Regions from separate parts of the Homo sapiens genome. Here regions 2 and 3 are each linked to region 1. Evidence: promoter capture Hi-C in human tissues and cell types (Jung and others, 2019). All regions are on one chromosome and are shown on one strand. The core of a region is centred on a gene start or on the middle of the fragment in contact, and the rest is flanking DNA. Distances in the headings are between cores, read along the strand shown. Region 1 holds the start of NXNL2 (nucleoredoxin like 2). Region 2 has its middle 64 kb from the start of SPIN1. Region 3 overlaps SPIN1 (spindlin 1).

Region 1 (4,299 bases), core at 1,183-3,682:
TAGCTCCAACAATTCCCACAGAATATCCCACTACCTAGCTTACACATGACAACAACAGAGTTAAGGAAGTTCAGTGTGGAAAGGGGTAGGGACAAACAGCTAAGTTTACAAAAAGAAAAATCCCTCCCAGGCCAGCCAGGCTGAGAAGATAGGAGCACACAGCTGACCCACGTCACGCAGCTCACTGCCTCCAGCTGGAGCTCACAGGCTTGACCAGAGCATCAGAAACAGACGAGCAGTCTCCATGGCCCCAAGCGATGACCTCCCCAGTCCAATCTGTGTGCCGCTGGGGACCAAGACTCACCACCCCCTCAGTGAGGAAGTAGGGCACGGCAGAAAGAGGGTCCTCAGAGCCAGGAGAACTGAACTCTATGCCTCAATGGCACATCTGTAAAATGGGGCAATAGACTAGAGAGCTGGGACATAACCAGCGGACACATGAGCTCATATGTGATCAGCTCAACCCTGACAACAACCACGTGATGTATCATATGCTCAGCAATAAAATACCTTGCCTGCCATCACCTGGCAAGTAAATCCCAGAGCTGGGCCAGAGCTTTGTGCCTAATTACTATAATGATACTGCCATCGTCTCTCGCTTTCAAACCTGCGTTCTTTCAAAAGCTTACAAATAACTTGAGTACTAAACAAGTCCAATCCTGTTTTTAAAAGCACCACTTGAACTGATTCTGTAAGAAATCCTTTTGCAAAGTGAACCACCCATCTTGGAGATTCATTATCAATAGAACTTTCAGAGTCCCGGTGTGAGTGAGGCTCCCAGAAGCAGGTTACCCCCCTGGAAGGCTGGGCGGTGCCCTGCCTGGGCCTCCTCTTTCACTGGGAATCACCAAAAATCATGTTTGGGGGAATAATTAGATTTCTTCCCATTAATTACTCATCTACAAAACTTTCCAAAGTTAGCTTCCAGTTTTCATTTTCCAGAAGGAATGTCATCTCATGATAATCAGTTTAGGGGGTAATGCCACAACTTAATGATAATCTCCAGAAATGTGAGGCTGTAAAGCAAAACCCAGAAATTCACATTGGTACCTAGAAGGGGGTGGCCAGGACAACATACTTGACGAGGCCTGCTTTAAACCTAAGTCTGGACTCTTACACCATAGGAGACCACAGGAGACCCACCCCAAAAGCAGAACAATCAATCCCTGTAATCCCCTCTCTGCCAATCCCTACCCCCTCCTTTGCAACAGTTAGAGTAATAAAGTTTATAGTAATGAGTTTTATGCTTCTCTAGTGATGAAATTCCATCAGTGTCGGTAAAAATGAAACCGCAAAGGTGGCCAGCACCTGGGTTCCTGCCAGCCTTGAAGCCCCCGTCCCTCCCTCCCAGCAAACCAACCACGGCCTGCACTGTGGGTGCCTGTCACAGAGCTGATGTCCTCGCGGGTCATCCCTCATCCCCGCATCCAGACACCGGGTCATGTCCCTGTGCTTCCTGCCCACTAACTGGGAGGATGACGCAGCGGCGCCGGGAGTCCAGGGCTGATTGGGCCGGCGGTTCCCGGAGCCGAGCCCGCGAACTCACAGCATCACCACCACTGGGAGCTCCTTCGCAATGCAGATTCCCGGAGCTCCAGACCCCAGGCAGAAACGCGCCCGCGTCCATGCTCCACGAGCCCCCTTGGGGTGCCGATGCCCTGGGTTTTCGAATCTGGTCTGCACCCTCCCTGGTCTCCAAGAGAGGTTGAAACTGAGACTGAGTGTGATTTACCGGAGTCCGGACGTGAACCGAGAGACGGGGAGGTGTTGGGGGGGGGCGTCATAAAGAGCTCCCCAGTGCAGAGGGGGAGGCCTGGGGGAACATGGGGGAGACGTGCCGGGCGGCCCCCGCCCCCCCAGGACCCCCACTCACTGCCGGTAGGGGTCGTGGAAGGGCAGCGCCAGCCAGGCGCCATGCAGCTCGCGCATGAAGTCCAGCATCTCCTGGGAGCTGCCGTCGGCTGACACGAAGACCACTTCGAAGGGCGCGGGCCGCCGCGCCTCGGCCACCAGCGCCGTATAGAAGTCGCAGAGCAGCGGCGTGAAGTCGCGGCTCGGCGCGCACCGGGCCGCCGCGAAGTACAGTGCCACCACCTTGTTCTGCAGCGCCGCCTCGGCCTCCACCGTCGCGCCCTTACAGGTCACCAGGTGCCGCTCGCCCAGAATGTCAACCATGGCGCAGACACGCAGCCACCTGAGACCCGAGGACACCTGCAGGAGGATGATCACCTGCGGGGAGGCGGCGGCGAGCGCCGCGGTGCCCCGCCTCTGTCCGCACCACCGGGCGCTGGACCTCTCAAGACCTGCCCCAGATGCGCCCACACCTTGGCCAGGCCTCGCCTGTGGCTGGAGCAATTGTGTTCGCGCCGACAATGAGACACTCAGACACCAGAGACCCCAGATACCTGGGCGACAGCGCGGCACCCGCCTCTGGGAGCGGGGCCAGCCAGGCAACCTCAAGCCCTCAGGTCTCTGCACCCTCCCCCAACTGCGCCCCGCCCACACTCCTGCGCCCTCCCACCACTGCGCCCCGCCCACATTCCCCGCAAGCTCCCCAACTGCGCCCCGCCCACATTCCGCACTCTCCACCCACTGCGCCCCGCCCACATCCCGCACTCTCCACCCACTGCGCCCCGCCCACATCCCCGCCCCCGCCCCCACTGCGCCTCGCCCGCATCCCCACACTGTCCCCCACTGCGCTGGGCCCACATCCCTACACTCTCCACCCACTGCGCCCCGCCCACATCTCCGCACCCTCCCCCACCGCACCCCGCCCACATCCCCGCACTCTCCTCCAACTGCGCCTCGCCCACATTCCACAGTTTCCCCTCACTGCGCCCCGCCCACATCCCCGCACTCTTCTCCAACTGCGCCTCGCCCACATTCCACAGTTTCCCCTCACTGCGCCCCGCGCACACTCCCGCTCCCTCCCCCACTGCGCCCCGCCCACACTCCCGCGCCCTCCCCCTCACTGCGGCCCGCCGACATCCCGCGCCCCCGCCCCCATCCCGACTGCGCCCCGCCCACCTCCCGCGCCCTCTCCCACTGGTTGTCCAGCCCACATCCTGCACTCCCTCCACTGCGCCCCGCTCACACTCCCGCACCCTCCCCACACTGCGCCCTGCCCACACTCCTGCACTCTCTCCCCACTACGCCCCCTACCACATCCCGCGCCCCCGCCCCCATCCCCACTGCGCCCCGCCCACACTCCCGCGCCCTCGCGCCCCTGGGCTCTCCCGTCGTGGGCACTCTCCCCAGCGCTTCTACACTTTCTCCCGACGCAGCGCCCTGCCCTCCGTCCCGCCCCACCTATTGCCTCCTGCGCTTCCCCCACACCGTGCTCTTCCTCCTCCTTCACTTCCTCCCACTCCTCGCGCTCCCCTTCAGCGCCCCACGCAGCCCCTCCCCCAAAACCCCGCGTCGCTCTCCTTCCCTCCTGGCCTCTCTTCCAGTCTCGCGCTCCCTGCCGGGCCCCGCCGCAGGTGTCCCGCAGCCGTCTCCCCAGGGCATTTGAATCTTGCCTTGGAGCTCTTGCCGCGCGGCCCAGCACCCTGGAAGAGGCATCAGGGAGGATGGGACGACGAGGAAGGGGAAGGGTAATTGGGCTTGGAGCGGGCTTGGGCGGGGTGGTAGGGAACCTGAGCTCCGTTGGTTCAGGGTGTTTGCCCCTGACATCCTGTGGCCTGGCTGGGAGGGTTCGTGAAGTTCAGGAAGAAATTGGGAGCAGTCCTTACAGAATGTTTTATTTGAAGAACCAAGAGTATTAATTTTTTGGCGAGCACTGTTGTAGGCCCTGGGAATTCAGCAGTGAGAAAAATAATTTCAACTCCCTGCCAGACCCGGGCTAGAAGGAGGCAAGCGAGCGAGGCACTCGCATAGGGGCAAAATTTAAGGGCGCGACAAAAAAACTCAGTAGTCAAGGTAAATAATGTTTTAATACAATATCTTAAAAAGTCAAAATGAATGCAAAAAAAGTTTATAATGAACAAAATATCAAAAACTTAAAGACAGTGAATGAAACCAAAATATGCCATCCTAAAATATGCCGCTTTGGTATATTGATTATTTTGAGCGAGAGGCACTTGAAAAATAGCAAATGCAGAGAGACGTTCTCCCCTTACCTGTCTAAAGACGGAACCTCCAAAAGAAACTGATTGTCGTAAATTCCCTCCCGGGAGGATGGACTCTTATCACAGCAGAAGTCCACACCACACCTAGACAAACTTTGTCACAAACTCATAAAGACTTATGCATCTTTCCTAAAAATCAGTTACTCTCCCCTAAGTGGCCTACACCAGC
Region 2 (4,299 bases), core at 1,227-3,726, 210 kb after region 1:
CATGAATTATCATCAAGATGTTCTTCAAAGTGGTTGTAGTAATTCATACTCTCAATGCCTCTTTCATTCTTTTTTGTTTGTTTGTTTGAAACAAGGGATTCGCTATGTTGGCCAAGCTGGCCTCAAACTCCTGTCCTCAAGTGATCCTCCCATCTTGGTCTCTTAAGTAGCTGGGATTACAGTTGTGAGCCACCATGCCTGGTCCAATGCCTCTTTCAATCTGAAGATTGTGTCTTTCTTCATTAGCTTTCTTCAGAAAAGTTAATTATTTATTTTTAAATTTTCTTTCCTTTTCTTTCTTTCTTTTTTTTTTTTTTTTGACAGAGTCTTACTCTTATCATCCAGTCTGGAGTGCTGTGGCACGAATTCGGTTCACTGCAATCTCCACCTCCCAGGTTCAAGCGATTCTCCTGCCTCAGCCTCCTGAGAAGCTGGGATTACAGGTGTGCACCACTAGGCTTGGCTAGTTTTTGTATTTTTAATAGAGACGGGGGTTTCACCATGTTGGCCAGTCCGGTCTCGAACTCCCGACCTCAGGTGATCTGCCTGCCTCAGCCTCCCAAAGTGCTGGGATTACAGGCTTGAGCCACTGAGCCGGGACTATTTATTTTATAATTTTCTATCCTTCATTTTATGTTCTGTTTCTTTCTTTCTGTCTCTCTTCTTTACTTTTTTTTTTTTTTTTTTGGAAACTGATGTTTATTTTCCATCAACTTTATTTCCATGTTGCTTAAGGGCCTGTGCAAGAAGTGCTTAAGACCAATCAGTGGTTGCTGCTACCCACTCAGTGGCCTGAGCAGTGGGAGCTGCAGACTAGACTTCCGTGGCAGGCTGAGCACTCCAGTCTTTAGTAGGGAACTGTGAATAGGCACAGAGGGCACCTGCATACCTTCAAACCAGTCTGCAATCTCAGGCTGAGTAGCAGTGAACTCAGGAGCTAGAGCAGTCCACTCACCCTGAAATTCCTCCTTGGTCACAGCCTTTTCAGCAGCAGCCTGCTCTTCTTTTTCAATCTCTTCAGGATCTCTGTAGAAGTAGAGATCAGGCATGACCTCCCACGGGTGTTCACAGGAAATGGTGCCACGCATGTGCAGAACTTCCCGAGCTGGCATCCACCATATCTGACCCACTGAGGGAGCTCCCTTGTTGTTGCATGGGATGGCAATGTCCACACAGTGCAGAGGAGAATCTGTGTTACACAGAGCGATGGTAGGTAGGTTAACATAAGATGCCTCCGTGAGAGGCTGGTGGTCAGCCCTGGGGTCGGTAACCACAAGAAGCCGTGGCTCCCGGAAGGTTGCCTGGATCTGGTTAGTGAAGGTTGCAGGAGTGAAGCGGCCAGCAATTGGAGTGGCTCCAGTGGCAGCAGCAAACTTCAGCACGGCCCTCTGGCCAGTATTCCTGGAGAATATGACACTGACATCAGCAGGGTATTCAATGGCAACAATGGCATGAGCTGCCAGCAGAAGCTTCTCCCAGGTCCTCTTCAGATTTGTGATGTAGGTGCCATAACTTTTCCTTTTATAGATGTACTGTTTCATCTGGAAGTCAAGATTGGTGCCACCTAAGTGGGTTCCTGCTGCAAGGAACTTAAGGACATCCTTCTTCTTCATTTGCAGGACATCAAGGGCTCCGCACATTGTGAAAGTTTTCCTTGAAGTTACGATGGGAATCCAGAACGCCGTATGGACCCCTCTGTGGGTAGCGCAGAAATAATTTTTGTATTTTCAGTAGAGACGGGGTTTCACCATGTTGGCCAGGCTGGTTGTGAACTCCTGACCTCGTGATCTGCCGTCCTCCGCCTCCCAAAGTGTTGGGATTACAGGCGTGAGCCACCACGCCCAGCCTCTTCTTTCCTTCTTTTCCTCTTTCTGGAATTCCTACTGGGTAGGTGTTGTACCTCTGTATTAATCATCTATATCTCTTATTGTTTCTGGCCTATTTTCTGTTTCCTGTTCTCTTTATTCTCTGTGACCTCCTAAACATTATTGTCCACCCATATTTATTATTTTACATTTTGTGAACCATAATTTTAATTTCCAGAGGCTTTTACTGTGGTTCTTCTCACAGGGCTTATTTTTCACTGTGTCATGTTCTTGTTTTATTGTTTTATGGATGGAATATTTTCTAAAATCTCTCTGGGGATGCTGATCAAAGAAGTTCTGTTCTTTCATGTTCTTTGTTTTATGTTCTTTTTTCTTTGTGAGACGGCGTCTCAGTGCAACCTCCACCTCATGGGTTCAAGCGATTCTCCTGCCTCAGCCTCCTGAGTAGCTGGGATTACAGGCGTCTGCCACCATGCCCAGCTAATTTTTGTATTTTTAGTAAAGACAGGATTTCACCACGTTGGCCAGGCTGGTCTCAATCTCCTGAACTCGTGATCTGCCCGCCTCGTCCTCCCAAAGTACTGGGATGACAGGCCTGAGCCACCGTGCCAGGCCTGTTTTATGTTCTTATGTTCTCTGAATTCTCTCTGTGTTCTTTGAGGTTAAACTTCTATCTTTGTCTTTCTCTCTCTTTTGGAATCCTCATTGCTTTCTTTCATACCACAGGTTTTCTCTAATTCTGCAGCGAGCCTCTGTTAAGCTTTTATATTTGAGAATGAGGGACTATAAAAGCTGACAGAAACTCTGGGACATGAACAGGGACTGCTGCCTTTAGATCACCCTTTGTGGGGAGGCCTTTACTCTGGTCATGCACACCAGCTGCTCAAGTCCCTCCAGACTGTGCACATGATTCTTTGCCTGGAGTCATTACCTGGCTGGATGTCCTCACAGTTCTGTGCATGGGGTGGGGTGGGGATGGGGGTGTTGACTGTTCTACACACAGGTCTTCAATCCTGATTGATTTTCAGCCCTACTGGACTCTCCTGCCTCTAACTGTGGAGCCCTGGCCCCATCCCAGACTCTACAGAGCACAGTAGTTTCTTCCATGGCTCCACCCTCCATCATCCCATCCCACCAGTAGCTGCTTGTCTAGCTGTGGCTTCCTCTGAGTTGTGGTTTCCTCTGCTATTTCCTCCAGCAACGTTCTTCACTCTGGGTTCAGTGTTGCGGAAATGGTCTGTCGTCTTCCCTCTGCAGATGTCATCATCAGCATTGTCCTCATTCTATTTGTGGGTTTTTTTTACACCTGTCCCATTCCTTCACTTGTGTGCTGTTGCTGGAACCTATGGGAGGCTCCTAGCCTATGACAAACCAGGCACAAAGGTCCAAAGAAACTACAGAGCTAAGTGCAGAAACAGAAAGATTCTGATACAAGTGTTCTGATGTAAACATTTAACATATTGAATTGTTTGGGGCATTTGATCCAACTGCAAACACGTACATCCATGATTTAGTTGCTAAGACACATTCTGGCCCTATGCAGAATCTGTAAATGCCTTTCCTCCAACTCTGTAAAATTGAATCTGTGGGCCTGGCACAGTGGCTCACGCCTGTAATCCCAGCACTTTGGGAGGCCGAGGCAGACCGATCACCTGAGGTCAGGAGTTTGAGACCAGCCTGACCAACATGGAGAAATCCCGTCTCTACTAAAAATACAAAAATTGGCTCACGCCTGTAATCCCAGCACTTTGCGGGGGCCAAGGCGGGTGGATCACGAGGTCAGGAGATCGAGACCATCCTGGCTAACACGGTGAAACCCCGTCTCTACTAAAAATACAAAAAAAAAAAAAAATTAGCCGGGTGTGGTGGCCGGTGCCTGTAGTCCCAGCTACTCAGGAGGCCGAGGCAGGAGAATGGTATGAACCCGGGAGGCAGAGCTTGCAGTGAGCTGAGATCGCACCACTGCAACTCCAGCCTGGGTGACAGAGTGAGACTCTGTCTCAAAAAAAAACAAAAACAAAAACAAACAAATGAAAAAAAACAAAATTAGCCGGGCGTGGTGGCACATGCCTGTAATACCAGCTACTCGGGAGGCTGAGGCAGAAGAATTGCTTGAACCCAGGAGGCGGAGGTTGTGGTGAGCCAAGACTGCACCATTGCACTCCAGCCTGAGCAACAAGAGTGAAAATCCGTCTCAAAAAAAAAAAAAAAAATTTGAATCTGCGACCTCAGAGATTCAGTGTTCTAAATCGCTGCCTGTTTTAGAAACCAGCCTGTGTGGCTGAGGCCCTACAGCATGTGATCCTGTCCACATCTGTCATGAGTAGCACAAGGTCAGACATAACCAGATCCATGCAAGTTGGTGTCTTTCCACAAGGCTGGACTTTTATTGATGCTATTTCAGTTATAAAAGCCATGAACTACATGAAGTTCCCACAGAGGCAATTCTCCTTAGTACATCCCATTTACTCAG
Region 3 (4,299 bases), core at 737-3,236, 130 kb after region 1:
AATATATACTGTATATCTCAAAGTAGCTAAAAGAGAAGGCTTGAAATGTTACCAGCACACAGCAATGACAAATACTCAACGAGGCGCAGTAGTTCACACCTGCAATCCCAGCACTTTGGGAGGCTGAGGCAGGCGGATCACCTGAGGTCAGGGGACCCAGACCAGAATGGCCAACATGGTGAAACCCTGTCTCTACTAAAATTACAAAAATTAGCCCAGCATGGTGGCACACACCTGTAATCCCAGCTTACTCAGGAGGCTGAGGCGGGAGAATTGCTTGAACCCAGGAGGCAAGAGGTTCCAGCAAGCCAAGATCGCACCGCCGCACTCCAGCCTGAGCAACAGAGCGAGACTCCATCTCAAAAACAAAAAGATAAAATACTCAAGGTGATGGATGCTCCAGGTACCCTGACTTGATCATTATACATTCTATGCATGCAACAAGTATTCATATGCATCCCATAAAGATGTAAAATATTATGTATTAATAAAAGGAAAAGATTGTTAGGAATTTAGCAAAGTATTTTTAGGCAAAGGCTTAAAACAGACACATAACATCTCAACATAAGCAAGAACATACAGTTCCACAACTTGCTTCTCTTATTAAATGTTACATTTTTTGTGTAATATAGTTGGCCCTTGGCCTCTTATCCCTTCAGCTCCACATCTGTGGATTCAACTAACCTCAGATTTTCAACATTTGGGAAATGATGGTTTCATCTGTACCAAACACATAAAGTTTTTTCCTTGTAGTTATTCCCTCAACAATACAGTATAACTATTTGTATAGCATTTACACTGTATTACATACTAGGAGTAATTTAGAGATTAAAGTATACAGAAAGATATGCATAGATTATATGCAAATACTACACCATTTTATATAAGAAACTTGAGCATCCATGGATTTTGGTATCCATGGGGTGGGGTGCAGGCGGGGAGGCAGGCGGAGTGTGGGTCCTGGAACCAATTCCCTGATATGGAGGGATGGCTGTATGAATTTTTTTTCCTATCAACCTCTTATTATTAACAGTGGCACAATATTCCAGTGTATGGGTATAATGGTCATTTACTCTACCTTAACTCCATTATTGGACAGTTGTTTCTAATTTTTCTCGATCACAAACACTGATATAATGAAAAACCTTAAACATAACGTATTTGTATACTGTCCAAATTCATCTATACAATAAAATCCTAGCAGTGAAACTGCTGGATCAACAGAGCACATGCATTTTAAATTCTGTTTTAGTGCAGCCATCCTCCAAAAAGGTCCTAGCAAAGTACAGTTCCACCAACAATGCAAGTTATTTAAGGGCTATGCATTTAGGTGAACCTTTCCTTATGAACTAATATTTTATTAGAATCTCACTCTGTTGCCCAGGCTGGAGCGCAGTTGCACGATCATGGCTCACCGCAGCCTCGACTTCCCCAGCTCAACTGATCCTCCCACCTCAGCCTCCCGAGTAACTAAAACTACAGGCACAAGCCACCACACCCGGCTAATTTTTTTTTTTTTTTTTTTGAGGCGGAGTCTCGCTCTGTCACCCCAGCTAGAGTGCAGTGGCATGATCTTGGCTCACTGCAACCTCTGCCTCCTGGGCTCAAGCGATTCTCCTGCCTCAGCCTGCCGAGTAGCTGGGATTAAGGCATGGGCCATGATATCCGCTTAATTTTTGTATTTTTAGTAGAGATGAGGTATCGCCATGTTGGCCAGGCTGGTCTCAAACTCCTTACCTCAGGTGATCCTCCTGCCTTGGCCTCCCAAAGTGCTGGGATTACAGGTATTAGCCATCACGCCAGGCCAAATATAGACTCTCATAGAAGGTGAGTGAATGGTCAGTGGAGTTCCTTGTTAGGCCAGAAAAAATCTAACCGAGGCATCAGGCCTTGTGGATGGGCCTCAGTCAATTAACCCAACTGTTAAGAGTCCTTTCTATCTCCTTGAACTATAACACTGAACCCAGAATCTCTGCTTAGTGAGCCCACATCAATAAATTCTGCCTGATTCAACTTTATGTTCCTTCCACTGTTATACTATACCCCTAAGATCCATTGCCACAAATCAAATACTCCTCCAGGCTCCTGACTATACAGTGGCAAAACTATACAATCTTTTAGAGTGCAGCATACCTTTCTCATGGGTCACCTCACTCTCTGGGGCCTGCTGCAACTACAGTCCAGCCACAGATCTACAAGAAAGAAGGATTACAGGGCAGATTCTGAGGAAGACAGTACCGTGCTGGGCAACTACCCAAAGGGAGGCCAATTACAGGTTTTTCAGGCAAACGGAGATTAAGTTCCTCTGGGAAGGGTTGGAAAGGCTGCTTCTCCGGGAAAGGCAGCAGAGCAGCATTTAAGGATTTAAGGACTCCAGCTTAAACAGAATCTGACCATATGCCTCCAATCCAATTTTCAGGATTCCATTCCTACCAATCAATGATCTCACCCACAAATTAGGAATTACATTTGCATTTTTAGAGCAGTCACAGAAACCTTCGGGTCCCTTACGTGTAGCCTGAGCTAAAAATTTAAAAGCCTGAGCTGATCATTCTGCTTTGTATGGTTTGAACTTGGCTGAGCTGAACTACATTCCCCAGAATTTCCTTTCCTTTATGTTTCCAACTTGCATGGCTCACAAGAGATTTTTGTGCAGCAACTGAAGGGTGCAGAAGATAAAGCAACCACCCTGCAGCTTGCACACACTGTTGCTGCTCATCTTCTGACTCACCCCATTCGTGTGAGGCAGTGGTTGGCCTAGAATTGCAGCTGCATCCACTCCACCTTCCTCTGGGCTCTCCTTAAGCTTCTCTGCCTCCTGGGCTACATTTGCCAAGGATCCAACTCTTACAGGCCACCCACACAAGCAGGAACAAAGGCAACTAGAACTAGCATGGTTTCCATGTACCTTGCCTGTGGCTTCCTGTGTCCTCTTCTTCCCCACTTTACATCCATCTTCCTTTCTCAAATGACTGCCCTGTGGACTTCAAACTCCAGCATCAATCACAAAGACAACAGCCTGACAGAAACCGCTTAACGGCTGGGCACGGTGGCTCACGCCTGTAATCCCAGCACTTTGGGAGGCCGAGGCGGGTGGATCACGAGGTCAGGAGTTCAAGACCAGCCTGGCCAACATGGTGAAACCCCGTCTCCACTAAAAATACAAAAAAACTAGCCAGGCATGGTGGCGCACGCCTGTAGTCCCAGCTACTCGGGAGGCTGAGGCAGGAGAATCGCTTGAACCCAGGAGGCGGAGGTTGCAGTGAGCCAAGATTGTGCCACTGCACTCCAGCCTGGGCAATAGAGCAAGACTCCATCTCAAAAAAAAAAAAAACTGCTTAAGCCAGCTCCTCCTACACTGTGTGAACTCAAATCACTGTAACAAATGCCTTAATACATACACACACATATCCCATATACGTTTTCCTTTATCCATCCTAGGGGTTTCATTTTTCTAAACCTTATGTGATCCTGAAAAAAATATTACAATTAAAAGTCAACAAGGCCGGGCACGGTGGCTCACGCCTGTAATCCCAGGGAGGCCAAGGCAGGCGGATGACCTGAGGTGGGGAGTTCAAGACCAGCCTGACCAACATGGAGAAACCCGTTTCTACTGAAAATACAAAATTAGCTGGGTGTGGTGGTGCATGCCTGTAATCCCAGCTACTCAGGAGGCTGAGGCAGGAGAATTGCTTGATCCCACGAGGCGGAGGTTGCGATGAGCCAACATCGCGCCATTGCACTCCAGCCTGGGCAACAAGAGCGAAACTCTGTCTCAAAATAAATAAATAAAAGTCAACAAATTGTTACTTAATAATCACTGTATGACAAACACCTGTGCAGACAAGACATTTAACCAACCAGACACCCTCAATTTTCTTATTATTTAATTCTCGCTACTGCACAGGGTAGCTTGAGCCCTCACAATTCAGACACTGAGCTAGATACCAGAAAAGTAATTACAGGCAAAAACAGGAATGGTTCTGCTTTCATGAAACTCAGCCTTTGTGGGAAAACTAAAATTAATTAAATCACATAAACTAATATAACATTGTAATTCTGATAAGCACCAAGAGGACTTGACTGCAGAAAAGTCAAAAAAATTCAAGAACTTCAGACAGCCAGGCACGGTGACTCATGCCTGTAGTGCAGTGGCACAGGTGGGAGGCTGAGGCAGCACTTTGGGAGGCTGAGGCAGGTACACTGCTTGAGTTCAGGAGCTCGAGACCAGCCTGGGCAACAAGGCAAAATCCCGTCTCTACTAAAAATACAAAAATAAACTAGCCAGGCATGGTGGCA

The links. The method cuts DNA at HindIII sites, captures the fragments that hold promoters and counts their contacts. A contact is called where the count stands out against the background at its distance.
Region 2: a fragment that was not itself captured here is called in contact with the fragment with the promoter of NXNL2 in region 1 in 1 of the 25 tissues and cell types used here (lymphoblastoid cells).
Region 3: a fragment that was not itself captured here is called in contact with the fragment with the promoter of NXNL2 in region 1 in 5 of the 25 tissues and cell types used here (IMR-90 fibroblasts, lymphoblastoid cells, mesendoderm cells and 2 more).

Annotation. Positions count from the first base shown.
Region 1 is chr9:88,533,311-88,537,609 of GRCh38, reverse strand. NXNL2 (nucleoredoxin like 2) reads right to left here and starts at 2,432. Exons shown (of 2, transcript NM_001161625.2): 1 at 1,874-2,432. The coding sequence starts at 2,175. LOC105376134 (a long non-coding RNA gene) reads left to right here and starts at 3,070. Exons shown (of 2, transcript XR_007061653.1): 1 at 3,070-3,596. RefSeq lists enhancers at 978-1,811, 1,812-2,646. The HindIII fragment of the contact is 10,556 bases long and covers 1-4,299 here.
Region 2 is chr9:88,321,795-88,326,093 of GRCh38, reverse strand. It overlaps the pseudogene RPSAP49. Among named protein-coding and RNA genes, the nearest start is that of SPIN1, 64 kb to the left of the region's middle. The HindIII fragment of the contact is 4,785 bases long and covers 84-4,299 here.
Region 3 is chr9:88,398,071-88,402,369 of GRCh38, reverse strand. The region is part of intron 1 of SPIN1 (spindlin 1); the gene reads right to left. Among named protein-coding and RNA genes, the nearest start is that of SPIN1, 12 kb to the right of the region's middle. The HindIII fragment of the contact is 9,312 bases long and covers 1-4,299 here.